2 separate regions of the Homo sapiens genome follow, and region 1 is linked to region 2. Evidence: promoter capture Hi-C in 16 types of primary human blood cells and fetal thymus (Javierre and others, 2016). All regions are on one chromosome and are shown on one strand. The core of a region is centred on a gene start or on the middle of the fragment in contact, and the rest is flanking DNA. Distances in the headings are between cores, read along the strand shown.

The links. Contacts are between HindIII fragments. The CHiCAGO score rates a contact against its expected background, and 5 or more counts as called.
Region 1: a fragment that was not itself captured here is called in contact with the fragment with the promoter of APOBEC4 in region 2 in 5 of 17 cell types (total CD4 T cells, naive CD8 T cells, non-activated CD4 T cells and 2 more); the score reaches 8.6 in total CD4 T cells.

What each region holds. Positions count from the first base shown.
Region 1 is chr1:184,218,906-184,225,222 of GRCh38, reverse strand. No RefSeq gene overlaps it. Among named protein-coding and RNA genes, the nearest start is that of C1orf21-DT, 160 kb to the left of the region's middle. RefSeq lists an enhancer at 1,257-1,790. The HindIII fragment of the contact is 4,300 bases long and covers 1,016-5,315 here.
Region 2 is chr1:183,648,614-183,654,984 of GRCh38, reverse strand. It overlaps APOBEC4 (apolipoprotein B mRNA editing enzyme catalytic polypeptide like 4), which reads left to right and starts at 1,669. Exons shown (of 2, transcript NM_203454.3): 1 at 1,669-1,913; 2 at 6,174-6,371. The coding sequence starts at 6,204. It also overlaps a transcript of RGL1 not described here. The HindIII fragment of the contact is 5,397 bases long and covers 877-6,273 here.

The DNA.
Region 1 (6,317 bases), core at 1,916-4,415, 570 kb before region 2:
CTTGTCTGATTCTACTGAATGATTTCCATAAAGCTAGGCTGGGCTCCCAGATAATATTATGGAAGGATTACACAAAACGACTGACATTTTCAATTTATTCTTTTAGCTCATACTGCTTTATATTTAGGCAGCTGTCTAAGGAGACACCATCAAAATGCCATTAGTCACCATGGGGAAAAAGTGTTCATAAGTGAAGGCATGCCATTAATCTACAGCATCAGTGTTATGGGTTTATCAGCATGGCACACCAAGTGGGATGTCAGAGGAATGGGCTTCATCTCACTGCAGAATGCAGTGGATCAAAAATGGACCAAGAGCTTCCCAGCCTAAGAGTCTAGTAAACTCCAGAGGCTCGATGTCAGATTCAGAAGAATTAAGGCAGAGCTATGCTCTTTGAGGAGAAACACATACAAGAAGTTCAAATTTTGTCCCCAAGTCTTCTTAAAGTTCAAGAAAATCTCTTCCCACTGAATTTAAATTAAGGCCTTATTTCCATGACATTTGATAATCCTTTATTGAGTATATCCTATGCACTGTGGGCACTTCTGTCCTCAACACTGGAGATGTTGCGAGTGAGAAGACACAATGCCTGCATTCAAAGAGCTTATGATCCACTCAAGAAGTCAGACAAGAGATAAACAATCTTAGCACAGGGTGTTACATGATCTGGAGAAGTAAGCCCAGGGTGCTGTGGGAGACAGAAGGGGAATCTGGGTGCAGCTGGAGGAAGCCTTCTGCCTAAAGATGGCTGATCAGCTCCTTCTGGGTAAAGAGGGTGGTCAGTTCTGTGTGGTTAACTTCTCTCTCTCCTTCCTGACAGAGAGGAGGCAGAGACCTGGGGGAAAGAGAATTGATTACAATCAGTGATTGTAATGGAAGAAAATTCTGCAAAAAAAACCCATGGTGATGTAGAAAGGGGAGAACTGCCTTCAGACAAGATGTTTTTAACGAATCTATGGAAGAAAAAAAGGTGGATGGAGGAGCAGTGCTGGGGAAGCAGGATGAAGCTGAAGCTTCCCAGACGGCCAGAAGGTGGGTGGAGAGAGAGGGAAGGAGGGGAGGCTAAGACTGAGAAGAGAGGCTCAGAAAGGCTCTGACGCTGGAACTCAAGCCTAGCAGAATTGAGAGCTGGAGTAGGATAGGCCAGAGAACACAAGAGGAGTCATTGAAAACCTTTGAGAAAAACTCTCGATGGGACCACCCACCCATGCCAGTGTATTCAGCAGTTAAGTGTCCATCTCCAAAATAAATCAGGTGTCCTTCAAAGCACTGAGTGGCCCCAGAGAGCAGACCTGCACCTTCTGGCACTTAGAAGTCCTTCTGAGTAGAGCAGGCTTTCTACTCCATCACCCTAATGCCATGGTTCTCCGCAGTGAGTGATTTTGCCCCCCCAGGACATTTGGGAGTGAGTAGAGAAGACATTTTTGGTTGTCTGTGAGGACAACAAACTTGGGGAAGGTGCTACTGGCACGTGGAGGGTAGAGGCCAGAGGTGCTGCGAAACATACTACACCGTGGAGGAGAGACTCAGACAACAAAGAATTATTTAGCCTCAAATGTCAATAATAAGAAACTCTAACATAAAGTTCTCCAGTTTACAAACCCCACCCCCACAAACTCCAAACAGTACTCCACAGCCATTTCAGCATTGTCACGTTTCAGTCATCAAGGATCTACTTAACCAAGTGCCTGGCCCCGCTGGATGCTGTAAGACGGGGGTCCCTAACCCCCAGGGCCACGGACTGGTATCTGTTAGGAACCGGGCTGCACAGCAGGAGGTGAGTGTGGGCCAGCCAGCATCACCACCTGAGCTCCGCCTCCTGTCAGATCAGCGGCAGCATTAGGCTCTCATAGGAGCATGAACCACACTGTGAACTGCGCATGCGAGGGATCTCGGTGGCTAAGATTCTGAACCATTCTACAGCGTAACACTGATGCTGTAGATTAATGGCAGGCTCTTTATGAGAATCTAATGCCTGGAAATCTGTCACTGTCTCCTACCACCCCTAGATGGGACCTTCTAGTTGCAGGAAAACAAGCCAGGGGCTCCCACTGATTCTACATTACAGTGAGTTATATAATTATTTCATTACATATTACAATGTGATAACAACAGAAATAAAGCACACGATAAATGTAATGGGCTTGAATCATCCCGAAACCATCCCCACACCCCGCTGGTCCATGGAAAAATTGCCTTCCATGAAACCGGTCCCTGGTGCCAAAAAGGTTGGAGACCACTACTGTAAGAGATGCTTTACGGCAGATCCATGACATGGTCACTGGGGACATGGAAAGAGAAAGGGTGTTTCCGTGTTGCTTTGAAAAACTCTGAGGCAATGCAACCAAAATTTTAAAAAGAAGAAAAAGAAAGCGTCTGAATTAGGAAAGAGCAAACAGCTTCGGTACATGCTACTGGGAAAAACGGCTTTTCAGGGTTGACCGCAGTACCTATCGATGGCCAGCAGAGGGCAGATGGGGCAAAAGAGCAGGAGAAAGGGAATTTCTGCCCTTCAGGGAGGCAATTCCAGTAAGAATACATGATTGTAAGTCAAGAGTCAACTGGAATTAAAAGCAGGAAATAGAGAAGGCAGTAGCTCACTGACTCCAAGACAATGCAGGTTTCACACAGTTGGGAGTCGAGGCCACAGAAGAACTAGGGAACCCAGGGCACCAAGGCTGAGGGGTAAGGGGCCAGAGTGGGCATGGGGCTTGGGTGGGAGAGCCCGATCCATTGCCAGGTGCTGTGCTCACCATACACAGGGGGAATAGGCCTCTGAAACACCTTCAGTGTTTGCCTCTGCCTCCTCTCAGCCTCCGCTTTGCTTTTTATAGGCCCAGTGCCTGGTATGACAATCAGAGGAAGCTGAAAAGCCTACCTGCAGGCCATGCAATGATGTGGGTGGATTTGGAAGAGGTGGATTCTGCTGGTGGGAAAGATGAAACCTGGCTTTGGTTGGTAGCAGGCTATTCTATATGTGAGTTTCTGCCCAACAGTTCCATGGTCGCCCTGCAAACCCAGCATCACACTGTAGTGTGTTTTGATCGCATAAACCTCCTTGAAAAGTCATTCTATAAGCACTTCTTGTTTTGTAAAAATAAAGTGTATTAGGGTTCTCTAGAGGGACAGAACTAATAGGATAGATGTATATATAAAGGAAAGTTTATTAAGGAGAATTGACTTACATGATCACAAGGTAAAGTCCCACAATAGGCCATCTGCAAGCTGAGGAGCAAAGAAGCCAATTTGAGTCCCAAAACCTCAAAGGTAGGGAAGCTGACAGTGCAGCCTTCAGTCTGTGGCCGAAGGCCTGAGAGTCCCTGGCAAACCACTGGTGTAAGTCCAAGAGTCCAAAAGCTGAAGAACTTGAGTTTGATGTTTGAGAGCAGGAAGCATCCAGCACGGGAGAAAGAAGATGGGCGGAAAACTCAGCAAGTCTGCTTCATTCTAGCCATGCTGGCAGCTGATTAGATGGTGCCCACCCACATTGAGGGTGGGTCTGTCTCTCCTAGTCCACCGACTCAAACGTTAATCTCCTTTGGCAACACCCTCACAGACACACCCAGGAACAATACTTTGCATCCTTCAATCCAATCAAGTTGACACTTAATATTAACCATCAAAGAAGAGTTAAGACATCTCTAGGGGAGTTTTCAGGGAATACCTGGAAATATTCTGGTGTCCAATAAAGGTAAAATTCTCATCAGAATCAACACACAGGGTATCTTCCCAAGCTCATTTTTATCATCACTGATGATAGTTACTCATTCTCCAAGTTTATTTCATGAATGTTTAGAATCAAGTCTAAACATCTCAGAAATCTCATTTATTAATAATGTATATCTAGCCGAGTGAGCAATGAGGAAAAGGTTTAATGTCCAAGATTTGGGGCTGGAGATAATATAACCTCTACCATGCTTACAGAATATAAAATGCTGGCCTAGTCTAGAAACCCAATCAAATGGCAACACAAAATGCAGACTACAAGTGTGGAATATTCTGATTTATTTGCTGTTTTAAAAAACCCTTTTTGCCTGATACCTATCAAAACCAAAAATAATCCTCTCACACAAGATAAGCGGGGATAGGAACTACACATTATTTAGGAGCTGGGCATTGTTGTAAGTACTTATTTGTTCTGGCATTTAATCCTCAGAACAGCCAACTGAATTAGTATTATTATGCCATTTTATAGATGAAGAAACCAATGTTCTAAGACATCACTGTAATAATCGAACAAGTTTTGTTGTTGTTGTTGTTGTTTTTAAGTGTCTTCTGTATCAGGAACTGAGCCATATTCTGGAGAAAAACAGAAACAATGACAGTGTCTCCCCCGTCTGCGGGATGTAGATATGTACACTGACAATTACATACTACAAATACTGTAATGGAAGTGGGAACACCTGGAATCTGCCTGGGTCAGGGACAATTTCATAGCGAGGTGACTCCAGCTGATTCCTAAAAGAATAGAGATTTTCCACTTTTCCCGTCTACTTGATGCTGTGATCTTATACTGTTGCAAAGTGATATCTCCAATTTCCATGGAAACTCCCTGCAGGCTAATTAGAATCCAGTTTATAAATTTAAAATAGGTAGAGTTTGATATTCTCTGATGCACACCGGTGTCTACTTCCTGCTGGCAGAGTTCTGTGGCCTTTTTGGGGATCCTTGGGATGGGACAAGGCTGATAAAATAACTTACCAGCTGGAGGTCACCACTCTTATCTAGCAATGGCATTCAATTGCTAGATAAGACACAAGTTGATAAGACTCAATTGACCCATGTGGCCCACCTGAAACGCCACATGGGGCAATTGAACCACCCGTCTCTTCCACCTGCCCTAAACTGCTACTACTTTTGGGGCTAAAGTGCCCTCTGCCCTTCACTGGTGGTTCTCAGAGCAGCTCTGGCCAGCTCGCCAGTGGCCCTGCCTGAGAATCCTCAGTGGAGTTCCATGTCTAGAGGAAGTCAAGGAAAAGAGGCCCACATTAGTGGAGAATTGCGCTCGTCTGTGATTGGTGGAGCCTCTCTAAGATTTTTCCAGCGTCAATATTCCCTTTCAAACATCATTAAAGCTAAAAGGAAAAGTCAGCACTAGATGTGAGGAAGCAGATTGGAGTCCTGTGTGTTATATGGCGACAACTGCCTCCATCGCAGGGCTGACTCACCGTCGTGTTATTGACCGGAAGAATATTTATTATCACAGGTCAAAGAATGAAGCATACTTCTCTCATTTCACTCAATTAATTTGTATAAAATGTTAGTTCATAATATGTGCTGTAATTTTCTTTAAAAACTTTTTTTTAAGTCAAGCTTTGTCAGCTATAAGAAGTGATGGACAGCAGCTAGGTGCTTAAGGCAGCCTGTGGGTTCTGGCTCAAAAGAAATAAGAAAAAGCCAAGACCCCCTTGACTTGCCTGGAGACCTTACAGAATATTAACATGGAGGGTTCATAACAGGCAATATAGTTCATTTTAATTAGGATCCCACAACCCTAGAAATTAAGTTACAGAAGATCTATTAGGTCATCTGGCCTATCGCTTTCCCTATCCCCTGTGCAATGCAGGATTGTTCCCTGGGGTCTGCTCACAAATGCATGGTTCAGTCTACATTTAAATGACTGCAACTATGAGGCTTACGTCATCCCCCTTGGGGATGACTATTACGTAGTCTAATGGATTTCACCATGATTATTTTTCCCTCCAGAGATTCTGCCCAAATTTCTCTTTGCTTGAATTTGTCTCATTTTTCCTCATTATATACCTTCAGGTTCAGAAAAATCACAAAAATGACAGTGAGAATGACCAAGTCTCTATTTCTTACTCTTTAGCAATAAAGATGGAAGTCGCCCCAGTGGGCTTTCTCAGTTTCACATTTTGTAGGTAAGCTGGAACACTGCTAACCCTTCTTACTCTTAGAAGACACTCACCATTCCTCTTAAAGGAATCCACAAAAATCACCAGCGTGGGGGCAGGTTTGAGTTTCAGTGGTGGTGGTCCATTTGACACGATTCACTCCTCCCTGCCTTGTCTGATCAACCATGTAACCAATGATATATTTGCCAAGATTTGTGATGCTCTCTGTGTCAGCAGAACAGAGGAAATCATTCTGGCTTTTGGGGGATGGTACCTATGACTTTACAATCATTGGCACCATTTAAGCTACCAGCCAAGCCACCCACTCCCTATTACATTTCTCAATGACACTCAAGGAATCTTACAACTTCAAGTTGACTAGGCGAAGAGATTTGGATCTTCTTTATGTCATCAATTTCACATATGTGCATACACGTGTACAGAGAGAAGCAGCAGCACCAG
Region 2 (6,371 bases), core at 420-2,919:
AATTTCACTGTGAACAGGAACCATGGTAAAGGCCTTTCATTTCCTCCTGATGAAGTTTAGTCTTAAAAGTCATTCTGTGCAACCTAAATGGAATGTTGCCAACTTAACATTCCTTGGAGTCTTCCTACATCTAACAGACAACTACCTTTAAAGAATAATGACTAATTGGGGTTGCCTATCCCTAAAATCACCCTAAAATGCAATTGATAAATGTGCTAGTGGACAAAGGCTCATTTTTCCTGTTTCTTTAGGCTTAACCTTCCATAGGTATATCATTTGCTGAGCATCTAATCCACCATGGAAGGTGCACAGTGCACATGGGATGCTGGTGCAGATTTGGGGACTATATTTTTTGTCTTTTCCTCCCCTCACTGGAACCTGTCAGACAGCTAATACTTTCTTACAGAACTGAGCAGGCCCTCAGAACTTGATTCTTCAGCTAGCGGGAGAAAAACCCCAACATGTTCTCTTCAACAGTCAGCTATTATCCTTTCACCCAGCTTTTGATAAGTAATATTTTTAAAGTAATGTTTGCAATAGATTGTCATTTATTAGGATTAAATAAAAGATGAGCTATGAGGATTGACTTTCAGTTCCATATTTACAAGTTCATTCAGTTAGAAGATGCAAGCAATGAGAAAAAAGGGATGACCCATGGCAAACTGTGGGGAAGGGACAGGATGCAGCAGTGACCATGTGCCAGAGCAAGCACCAAGGAAGATGAAACTGAAAATAACCAGCTGAGGAGTTCATGAATACACCTGAGGCCCTTAGGAGACAAAAACATCTCGTCTAGTAGGAGCACTCTGGATGAGAAAGGATGTGTGCTGTGGTGCAGACTGGAAGTCTGACAGTGGAAACAGGCGTGGCGAAGCTTCGAGAAGACAGAAGGTGCCCTCTGGGTGCTCAGTATCCCTGAGTTATTTTTAGAGTATGTCTGCTTACAGCCAATAGTTATTACTGGAATGTACACAATAGCAATCCCCACTCACTCCTTCAGGTGGCCTGGGAAAGGGGAATGAGGGAATAATCCAGAGTGATTGACAGTGAATTGTGACTATCAATGTGCCTTGTGTCTAGGAGATGATGTGGGGGTCAAGGGAGACTAAGGAAAAGAATGGAGAAGGACAAGTGGCTCTTCCGTTAGCCACAGAGAAGGGGCTACAACCGATCCTGGAACAAATCTTGTCTTAAACTGGAGGGAACCACATACATACCAATAGCAAGAGTCTTCCAGGCAATTTCTAAGAGGAGGGAAACCGCTAACACATAGCCTAGGTTTAGACAGAATCAAAAACACCCCCTTCAGGGACTATGGGCCTCTTGGAGGAAGTCAACTCTCTGCTCCCTCTCACAGAGGGCAAGCCTCCCAAGGAGAAGCCCTGGCACCCACGCAGGCAACAGAACCGCCAGGCCTGGCACCTACTCTAGACCAGGAGAAAGGTGCTGAGGAGCAGGCCCTCAGAACTTGATTCTTCAGCTAGCAGGAGAAAAACTGCAACATGTTCTCTTCAACAGTCAGCTATTATCCTTTTACCCAGACTGGGATATGCAGTCCTGTATATTTTCATCTTTGGAACAGGTGGCTTGATATGCAAATAAAGTAATAAGTGTCAGAGCTGTATCCTAGCAGTAGCTACTTTGCAAACGTTACCATGGCACCCAATCAACAGTGTTCTTAGAGGTAGCCACACCTCAGCAAGGGCTTTCTAACTTGGAACAGCAAAGTTCAAATGAACGAATAGACACAAACTGTGAAAGAGTCCTGAACCCATTACAAGGTGAATCTTTACAGCACAATTGCCTTCTGAAGCTACTTGAAACAGGGCATGGGACTTAAAGGAGAAAAAAAAGGAAATGGACCATCTCTTCTAACACCTGGAATGTGATCCAAGCCTGGAGACAAATTGATGGTAATTATAACTGCTAACATTTGTTTTTAGCTGCTAACAGATTGTGCACAGATTGTGAAGGGCAAACTCCATTCTCCAATTACTCCAGTGCAAACTGTGCTTTAACAGTACTCACTAAATCCTAGTTGAGTGAAATGAGAGCAGATTGTCCTTATGGTGTGGTTCATTTATGTTAAACTATGGAAAGCTGTCCTCCCACGGTCCCAGTCCAGGGGCCACTCACAGCCAGATGCAGAGAGCCCTCCAGCACGCTGGGCTCTACACATCTCTGTTCTTACTGCCAGCAAATCTGCTCTACAGAGTATAACATGTATTTCCCAAGCACAGACAAAGCAAAAGGAAAAGGGCTAGGCAGGAAGTAGGGACACCAGCTGCTGGGGAAACAAGTCTTAAGCAACCTGGCTTGTGAGCCAATCAAGGTTGCTAAGGTAGGTCCTGGGCCTAAACAGGGTACATTTCCACCTGGTTGGGGAGAATAAAATGACAGATACCAAAAGTTAACAAGATAATCTGTGGTCGATAACAAATTGATACAATAAACCATGAATTCTCTAAGAGTTCAAAGAGGGCAACAGTTCTTTCCTGCTTCCTCTTCAGATGAGGGTGATCAAAGAACAAGCCCAGAAAGACTCTGAAAAAGTGAAAACTTCACCAATAGGAAACTATAGTTGGTTGACACTGAAAAGTTGTCAGCAAGAATGAGACTACAGAGCTCCCTCCACTATGTGTTAAAGCCACAGTCCTCTCCATCTCCTTAAAGACAGTAATGATGTATCATTTCTGGCTAAAACAGCCACAGAAGATGGGGGTGCAAAGGAAGGCGTGCTTAGAAAAGCAATAGGGAGTTTCCATTTTGCTACCTTTATCTAAAAACACACAAAGACTTTTGTTTCCCAAAAGGGTAATTATGGGACCATTATATATAGTTAACTCCACATACACATCACCTTAAGAAATAGTAATAAAGACAGAAAAGTGCCTTTTGGTTCTGTTTCCATAACATTTAGCCAAATCAATCTGTAAATTGTCTATGGGTGAGTTGAAATTGTAATCTGAGCAGTAACCTGGATGTCCGGTGTACCACCCATAAGTCGACCACATCAAGGGCACAATATTAAAAAGCATGAAAGTTTGGGCTTGGTTTTGGCAAGTTCTGATGGAGAGATCCATCCAGCCTGATGAAGGCTAAGCAAGGAGGAGGTCCAGAGAGGAAACAATGCTCGGGAGTAAGCAGGAAATGGCGTCAGGTTCCAAGAGATCGTCCACTGCCAAGGGTTAAATCCAGCTCTCTAGAAGGAAAGCTATGACAAGGTCTAGGAAGCCTCAAGGCAGGAATTCAGTTACATCAGGAAAATATAGTACTAAGGAAAAAACAAAGCTAATGTCCAATCCTATGGATTAAGATGACACAGCAGAGGCTAGGAGAAATCTAGAATCTGGTGGGTATGTGGTGCCAGAGTTACTGCAGGATATTAGCCACTAAGATAATGGTGACATGAATAAAGCTACATTCCACCTACAGCTGGATTGAGGCTTTTAACATATTTTCTGCCCAGGATAGGATTAGCATAGGAACTCTGCAGGTTTCAGGCTAGAGATCAAGCTGTATCAAATACAGCAATGAATGAGCTGATGTGGGCTGAGGAAGACAGAAGGTGAACATAGCACTTCCATATGAGAGGCCATAATTTATTTATTAGCACAAGTATTCATACTTGTGATATGATAAGTGAGATTTTGAAAAGTGAAAAATATATTCTGTTGCAATGGTCAGTTTACCTCATTTAAATTTTCTGCCTTATCAGTTTTGTTATCTGACAAAGTTAAATGTAAAAAATGAAACCATAAATACTAGAAGAAAATATGGGGAATACTTAATTATGCTTTGATGAGGAAGGCATTTCTAAATACAATAAGAAAAAAAATCACAGGAGTAGAGACTGGACCACATAAAAATGTAAAATTTGGTGCAATTAAAATAACATTGGCATAATTAAAAGGCTGTATAAACCAGGTAAAATATTAGCAGCAAATGTGGCAGATTTAATATTCTTGATGCATAAAAATGTCTTGCAAACCAATAAGGAAAACTTCACGCAAAAAATAGGTAAAAAATCAAATATATTTCACAGAAGAATAAATACCACAGACCAATAAGCATGTCAAAAAGTGTTCAACTTCACTAGAAATAATAAAGGCACACATTATAGCAACAAAAAAATACCAATGCTCCCTTCTCAAATTGGGATAAACAACATTGTAAGAGAATGTGATAAGATTGGTACACCTTCCTAGGAAGCGATTTGACAATGTTTGACCTAATACTATGATTTCTAGTAATCTATTCTAAAAAAAAAAAAAAATCTGATTCTTTATAATAAATATTATATAATATATGCAATAGATAATTTCTCACAGAAATATTTATCAAAGTGTTATAATAATTAAAAGAGGCAAGAAACTGAATGTTACAGTTACATAATAAAAAACTAATTAGCCATGAATATTGTGTTTTTTGTTTTTCGTTTTGAGACAGAGTCTCGCTCTGTCACCCAGGCTGGAGTGCAGTGGTGGGATGTTGGCTCACTGCAAGCTCTGCCTCCTGGGTTCACGCTATTCTCCTGCCTCAGCCTCCCGAGTAACTGGGACTACAGGCGCATGCCACCACACCTGGCTAATTTTTTACATTTTTAGTAGAGACGGGGTTTCACCATGTTAGCCAGGATTGTCTCCATCTCCTGACCTCATGATCCGCCCACCCTGGCCTCCCAAAGTGCTGGGATTATAGGCGTGAGCCACCACGCCTGGCCGAATATTATTTTTAATAACATGGGAAAATGCTCATGGCACAATATTAAGTGAAAAAGCAGGGTATAAAACATGACTTTGTTTATATTATATGTAACATACACATATAGCAAAAAGACTGGAGGGAATAGACATGTTAATAGTGACGGAAGGCTGGACATGGTGGTTCACACCTGTAATCCCAGCACTTTGGGAGGCCAAGGTAGGAGGATCACTTGAGCCCAGGAGTTCGAGATCAGTGTGGGCAACATAGGGAGACTGTATCCCTCCTAAAAAATAAAAAAATTATCTGGGCATGGTGGTACATACCTGTGGTCTCAGCTATTTGGGAGGCTGAGGCAGGAGGATCACTTGAGCCCGGAAGGTTGGGGCCACAGTGAGCCATGATCATCTCACTGCACTGCAATCTGAGCAACAGAGCAAGACTGTCTCAAAAACAAACAAAATAGGTAGCTCCTAGAGCATTATAGGAACAACGATAACTGAAGGAATATTTTTTAAAGGAAAAAATCATTACTTAAAGATCTCAGCTTTTTGAGTTTAACATCCCAGAAACTACTAATTTGAAATATTCTAAAGAACCATATTTGCTTTCTGTAACAGTAATTTTTCAAAAGTCTTCTAACAAGACCCACTCACGGGAAAGAAAACTCTTACATGTCAATGAATGAGTGTCCACAATCCAAAGAATACTCAAGTGGCACTTTCCTAAGAAGTCTCTATCATTAAGCAAAAGAGATCCCATGATCCTAGTCTCAAAAAAAACCCAAAAACCTCCAAATTATTTCCAGTGATTTTAAGAAAGTTGATGTTAAATGCAAGCACACTGAATAGTTCTGCACAATACATTAGATGTTAACATATTCTGAGAAGAAAGATCATGAACAAAATGCAAAACACTTTTTTGTACTTTTATAATTAGGAATAATCTAGATAACCCTAGGATTTGTACTTTTACTACTAAGAGTTAATATTTACTGAGTCCTTACTATGTGACAAGCACATTAGTGAAGCATTTTATATTCATTCTGTTATTCAATGCTCAAGACAATCTTATCAGGTAAGTACTATTAATATCTTCATTTTACAGACAAGGAATCTGTGGCTCCCAAATGTTAAATAACTTGTCAAAGGCCACCAAGCTGATAATTGGCCAAGCCCAAATTTAAAACCAGACAGTCTGTTTCTAGAACTTGCATTGTTAACTCATTTGCTTTACTGACTTGGAATCTATGAAACAGGTAAAGTTGAAGAACGCCTTTCTCTTCTGTTTCCTCCCCATGCTCTAGGAGTCTCAATAAAGAATAATGAATCCTGAGCTTTTAAATCTATGCATATATCACTATCTTTATTGTGCTACTTCCTTTAAAGAAAGTATGGTTTAATAAATTAATGCACTGTCTTCAGTTTTTCCTGCGCTGGTTTTATATGTAATTTCTCTTCCTTGTTTAGGTTTGCAGCTAGAAGACAGTAAATCTAGCAATGGAGCCCATATATGAGGAGTACCTAGCAAATCATGGAACAATAGTAAAACCATATTACTGGCTAAGCTTCTCTCTCGATTGCTCTAATTGTCCTTACCATATTCGAACAGGTGAAGAAGCAAGAGTTTCCCTCACAGAATTTTGTCAGATTTTTGGATTCCCTTAT